Regions from separate parts of the Homo sapiens genome. Here region 2 is linked to region 1. Evidence: promoter capture Hi-C in human tissues and cell types (Jung and others, 2019). All regions are on one chromosome and are shown on one strand. Each heading gives the region's core, a stretch centred on a gene start or on the middle of the fragment in contact. The rest is flanking DNA. Distances are from core to core; before and after follow the strand shown.

Evidence for each region. Contacts are between HindIII fragments. The study calls those that stand out against the background at their distance.
Region 2: a fragment that was not itself captured here is called in contact with the fragment with the promoter of RRAS2 in region 1 in 2 of the 25 tissues and cell types used here (H1 embryonic stem cells and IMR-90 fibroblasts).

What each region holds. Positions count from the first base shown.
Region 1 is chr11:14,357,741-14,360,814 of GRCh38, reverse strand. RRAS2 (RAS related 2) reads left to right here and starts at 1,632. Exons shown (of 6, transcript NM_012250.6): 1 at 1,632-2,052. The coding sequence starts at 1,945. RefSeq lists silencers at 1,533-2,032, 2,103-2,302, 2,343-2,462 and an enhancer at 2,703-2,802. The HindIII fragment of the contact is 8,284 bases long and covers 1-2,755 here.
Region 2 is chr11:14,436,799-14,439,872 of GRCh38, reverse strand. No RefSeq gene overlaps it. Among named protein-coding and RNA genes, the nearest start is that of COPB1, 61 kb to the left of the region's middle. The HindIII fragment of the contact is 7,789 bases long and covers 1-3,074 here.

The DNA.
Region 1 (3,074 bases), core at 383-2,882:
GGAGTAGCGGAGAGTACAAGTGCACGCCACCACTCCGGACTAATTTTTGTATTTTTAGTAGAGATGCGTTTAGCCATGTTGGCCAGGTTGGTCTGGAACTCCTGGGCTCAAGCGATCCGCCCGCCTTGGCCTTCCAAAGTGCTGGGATTACAGGCATGAGCCATTGCGCCCAGCCATCCCAGCACTTTGGGAGTTCGAGACTAGCCTGGGTAACATAGAGAGACCTTGTCTCTTAAAAAAAAAAAAATTACCTGATCTTGATGGCATGTGCCTGTAGTCCCAGCTGCTAGGGAGGCTGAGGTGGAAGGATCACTTGAGTCCAGAAGTTGGAGGTTGCAGTGGGCCATGATTGTGCCACTACACTTCAGCCTGGGTGACAGAGGGATCTTGTCTCAAAAAAGAAAAAAAAAAGATTTTTAAAAAAGGAATTCAGGATGGGCTGGCCTGGATGGGTATTTTTGCTTGGGGTCTCTCACGCAGTTGCATTCAGATGCTAACAGGGGATGCCGTCATTGGAAGGCTCGATTAGGCTGAGTGTCCAAGATGTCTCACTTAGATGGCTGGCAGGTGATGCTGGTGATCTGGTGGGAGCTCAGTGGGACTTTTTTTTTTTTTTTTTAAATGGCATGTTGCTCCTGGCCATCAATCAGACTTCGACTGGCATGCCTACATGTAGCCTCTTTAGCATGGCAGTCTTATGATAGTCAAACTTCTGACTTTGTTCCTCCCGGAGTGAGAATACCAAGAGAACAGCTGCATGGCCTCTTCTGATCTAGCCTGGGAAATTAGGCAGCATCTCTTCTGCTGCATTCTACTGGTTCCAAATGAGTTACCAAGTGAAGTCCAAGAACTTGCAGTCATGTTCCAAGATTGCTGTAAATGCTTCCTGTGTAGCAGCACTGTTTTATGTGCTCATTTAATTCTTATTAAAAACCCCATGAGGCCGGGTGCAGTGACTCACACCTGTAATTCCAGCACTTTGGGAGGCCGAGGCGGGAGGATTGCTTGAGGCCAGGAGTTCAACCCCTCGCACTCACACTCCTCATATCCAATTACTGCACATTTGTCACACATAAACATAGCCACTATGACACTGTACTGACACATACAAAATCTGTCACATTCCGTCTTGCCCATGCAAGCTCAATCACTGACTTATTCTCCATGCTCAGCCACTGTCCCATTCTTCACACTGTCACAACCACCAGCCCATCACACACTCAATTACTGTGACACAGCTCTAATCCTCAATCACTGTCACATACTGTTTTTCACACAAATATGGTCACCATCTGTACTCTTAAAGCAGGGTATGTACTCTCCTATAAAATTGAGTTAATATGCCAACAGCCCTATTTTTCGCACACGCCGTCACATATTGTATTTTTCATCCACACAATCCCTTACATAGACAATTAGGGTGACACACTCTTTCTGCCTTCGTCCCACTCCCAACTGACACCCACTCCCACACTCTCACGCACTCGCTCACTGGCTAGGGATTAGAGCGGTGTGTCCGTGGGGGTCTGAAGCCCGGGTTACCTCCCGAACCTCAGCCCCAAGCGGCGCGGCCCCGCCCCTCCCCGCCCCCTCATGCATATGCAGCACCTCAGCCTGGCAGCCCGGCCCCCAGACGGCCATTTGTGGCGGCGCTGGAGGCTGCGTTCGGCAGGCGCTGCGGAGACGCGTAGAGGAGCGCGCCCCCCGGCCGCTGCCGCCCCTGGCCCGTGCCGTCACCCCGCTTCTCCGCGCCTCGGGCGGTACCCAGCCAGTCCCCAGCGCCGCGCTACCGCGCTGACCGGCCCTCCAGACGCCTCCCGGTACCCGGGACCCCAGCCCGGCCGCTCGCCCGCAGCCCGCCGGCCGCACACGTCCCCGGAGCCGGGCCTAGGGCGGGCGGCAGCGGCGGCTCGGCGCAGTCAGGCTGGGCTCTGTAGCGTCCCCATGGCCGCGGCCGGCTGGCGGGACGGCTCCGGCCAGGAGAAGTACCGGCTCGTGGTGGTCGGCGGGGGCGGCGTGGGCAAGTCGGCGCTCACCATCCAGTTCATCCAGGTACCTGGAGCGGGCCTGCCCGGGGCGCCGGAGCGGCGGCGGGCGGGGGCTGGCGCTACCTGTGGCGGGGCGGCCGCCGCGACCTCGCCCCAGAGGCGCCTCGCGGGCCCGGGCCGGGGCCAGGGGGCGGGAGGGCGCGGGGCCGACTACGCTCCTGCCCTGCGGCCGCAGCGTCGCGCTCCTGCCTCCTCCCGGGCGCGGCGTCGCGGGAGTAGGGCTTCTCAGGAATGTGGTCGGGAGGGCGGAGCTGGAAGGGTGGGAAGCACCGATCCACCTTATTGCTCTGGCCGAGGCCAGAGACCTCCGGGAGAGGCTGGGCCACCGAGCCGGGCTTTACTGCTCCGAGGGTCCGGGCGTGGGGCTGGAGCTGGAGCCCCGCGCGCTGCTTTTCCAGCCGCCTGCGGCCGCGCCTTCACCGTCGGGGCGATAGCGGTGGCAACTTGGCCGCGGCTCCGCGTGGTCTCCGGGCTTCCCCGCGCCGCCTGAGCCGGAGCTGCCCGCTTCAAGTACTGTGTATTTCTTTGTGTGTGTGTTACGCTCTTTTTATAAGTACTCTCTTAGGTAATATGTCCGGGTGGGAGTGTGTGATAATGCCCCGGGGAAATGGTGGCTTCTAGGAAGTTAAAAATGTTCTCTGATGGGGTGAGACCATTTCCTAGGAATTCCTGATGCCGTCCTGCTTCTCGCCGTGCCTAGGTGAAGTTTGGGATGGGCCGGGCTAGGATATGACCGAGTCGTGCGTTCTGTTTTCTAACCACCCTCTCCCCTACCCCCAGCCCTCTCTGGTTGCTAGAGACGGTAAGTCAGGGGTTTGTGGTAAAGAAAAGGGAGGTGGTATTCTTCCTTCTTAGAATTTGCTCTTGGGGAGAGGTTTGAGTAGTCTTTTTTGGGATTTTTAAAACACAAAGCCCCGATGTCTTTCTGCTTTTGTCAACCTAAAAGGTGTGGCATATGCTGGGAGAGAACGAAGGTACCCTGTTATAACAGGAAACAAGGATATTTTTCACAGTATCTAGAGTATG
Region 2 (3,074 bases), core at 376-2,875, 79 kb before region 1:
TCCTGTTGAATAGCCCAAGCAGCAGGAAGAAGAGGAGGGATTGGTCTTGCTGTCTCAGGGGTGGCAGAGGCAGAAGGAAATTCCTGTAAACATGGACCCATGAAGTTCAATCCCATGTTGTTCAAGGGCCAACTATAATTACAATTGTGAAGAGTGCTACCAAGGAAAAAACTCCAAGTATCATAAGAGCTTACAATAGGAAGACCTAGCCTAGACCAAAGAATCAGGGAAGGCCTCTCTGAGAAAGTGACATTTAATTCGAGACCTAAAGAAAGGGTTAAAATTAGCCAAGTGAAAGGAGTAGGAGTGAAATGGAAGTGCTCTCCTCGTGCAAGGAAGAGTATCTGTGAAGGCCTCAAGGAGGAAAGGAGGAAGGAAATGAAAAGGGTTCCTGTTAGAGTGTATGGAAGGTTGAGGCTAAGACTAAGAAGACAATGTGAACCAAATATTTGGGTCATTTCAAGGATTTTGAGCAAGTGTACAGTTTCACGCAGAGGGTGGCATGATCTGATACGTCCTTTTAAAAAAGGTCAGCCTGTTTGTAGTATGTTGAAAGGGCTTAATGGAGGTAAGTAAATCAGATGGGAAGCTATTGTATTAATAGTTGTCCATCCGAAGGCAGATGGCTTAGTGGAGATAGATTCAAGAAACTTCTCCAAGCTCCTGAACGCCCATAACCTACTTCTGGTCCCTTCTCCACCACACCACCACTACTACCAATTTTGGCAATTGACTTGCTTCCTACTTCTTAGGAAATTTAAAATATCAGGTGTGAACTTCAATTTCCTGCTTCTACACCTACACATTTAGCTAACTATACTTCCTTCACTTCCTTCCTGCCAGTCTCAGAGAAAGAGGGTCAGATCTCCTTTCTAAGGCACATCATTCTTCCTTCCACCTTCTCCAAGACCAATACCATGCCCCTTGATTAACCACTCCTTCTCCTCTAAACACATGCAATTCTCTTCTAATTAGAAGAACAAAAAACAGGCCTGGCATAGTGGCTCACACCTGTATTCCCAACACTTTGGGAGGCCAAGGCAGGCGGATCACCTAAGGTCAGGAGTTTGTGACCAGCCTGACCAATATGGTGAAACTCCGTCTCTACTAAAAATACAAAAATTAGCTGGGTGTGGTGGCACGGGCCTGTAATCCCAGCTACTTGGGAGGCAGAGGCAGGAGAATTGCTTGAACCTGGGAGGTGGAGGTTGCAGTGAGCTGAGATCACGCCACTGCACTCCAGCCTGGGCGACAGAGTGAGACTCTGTCTCAAAAAAAAAAGAAAAACAAAAAATCCACTCACCTCCTGTCACCCTAGCTACTACCTTATCTCTCCTTCCCTTTATAACAAAATTTCTATAGTCCACTCTTCCTATGTCAGAGATAGTGGTGTTTACCAAATATTCTGTTCTGCTCCTCACATTTCCCAGGAACTTAGCAATTAGGCAGGCTGAGGTGATTAGTATCTCACTCTGGACCAAAGTGTAAAATAGCTGGCATGTGACCTCCTAAGATCTCTTCACTTGCTGAGCCAATTGTGGAGAGGATTTTGTCTTCCAGAAGTTGCTCAGCACAGTGAATGAAAATATATTCATATCTCAGCACTTAGTGAAATTCAGAACACTGTTGTATAATTTCAGAACACCAAAGAAAAAGAGAAGATTCTAGCAGGGTGTAGTGGAATCCTGTAATCCTGTAATGCCTGTAATCCTAACACTTTGGGAGGATTACTTTAGCCCAGGAGTTAGAGATCAGTTTGGGCAACCTAGCAAGACCTTATGTCTACAACAAATTAAAAAATTAGCCAGGTGTGGTGGTGCATGCCTGAGTAGTCCAAGCTACTCAGGAGGCTGAGGCAGGAGGATTGCTTAAGCTCACTAGGTCCAGGCTGCAGTGAGCTATGATCCTGCCACTGCACTTCAGCCTGGGTGACAGAGCGAGACCCTGTCTCTAAAATAAAGATAAATAAATAAATAAATAAATAAATAAATAAATAAGAGAAGATTCTGAAAACTTCCAAAAAGAAACAATGGGTTGTATACAATCAGGAATCAAAATGTCTTGAGGATCCTTAACAACATTGGAATCAAGAAGGGAATGGAGCAATGGCTTAAAAATTCTGCAAGCAAATACTTCCTAAGAATTCTATACTTTTCAGACTATAATCAAGTGTGAAGATAGGATGAAGAAATTTTCTCTGACATATACACTTTCCCACCAAAATATAGGAGTAAACAAACAAACAAACAAACAAGATCCAACAAGGAAAGAGATGAAGAGCACCTGAAGAGTGACAATCAGTAGAGATTCTAGGATCACAGCATTGCACCAAGTGTCGAGCATAATCAGGCCAAAGAGTAAGGTGATTCAAGAGAGGTTCACTGAGGAGTATCATCAGGTTAAAACTGATGAAACTACTGGAACAGATATCTCCCAAACAGGGGTGCAAACTGAGAAAGAGAAAGATACAAATTCTAGGCAACAGGGATCCCAACTCAGAAAAAGGCAAAAAAGAATTCTCAGGATGACAGGGAAGAAAAGTGCTGGGAAGACAGCTAAGCAGAAGGGCTAGGGTGCAATCAGATAAGAAAATGAGTCTCCGGGAGTCTCTAGGAGACTCATTTTCAATTTTTCAAGAGAAAAATTGGAACAGACAGATTACCTGATGTAATTGACTACAAGGGAATCTGTAGTGAAAGATTATTGTAAAGTGTCAAAGAAATAACTATAGGTAATAATTACAAAGAAAATTAAGCAGGTGAAAAACCAAGGCAATTATTAGATTTAGGAAAAGCAAAAGTTGGAAAAGAAATATAATTTTGAGCAGGGCATGGTGGCTCACATCTGTAATCCTTGCACTTTGGGAGACCAAGGCAGGAGGGCGGATTGAGGCCAGGAGTTCAAGACCAACCTGGGCAACATAGTGAGACCCTGTGTCTACAAAAAATACAAAAATTAGCCACACATGGTGGCAGGCACCTGTAGTCCCAGCTACTCGGGAGGCTGAGGTGGAAGAATTGCTTGAGCTGGGGGCACGGAGGCTGCAGTGAGCCAAGTTATGCAACTGCACTTCA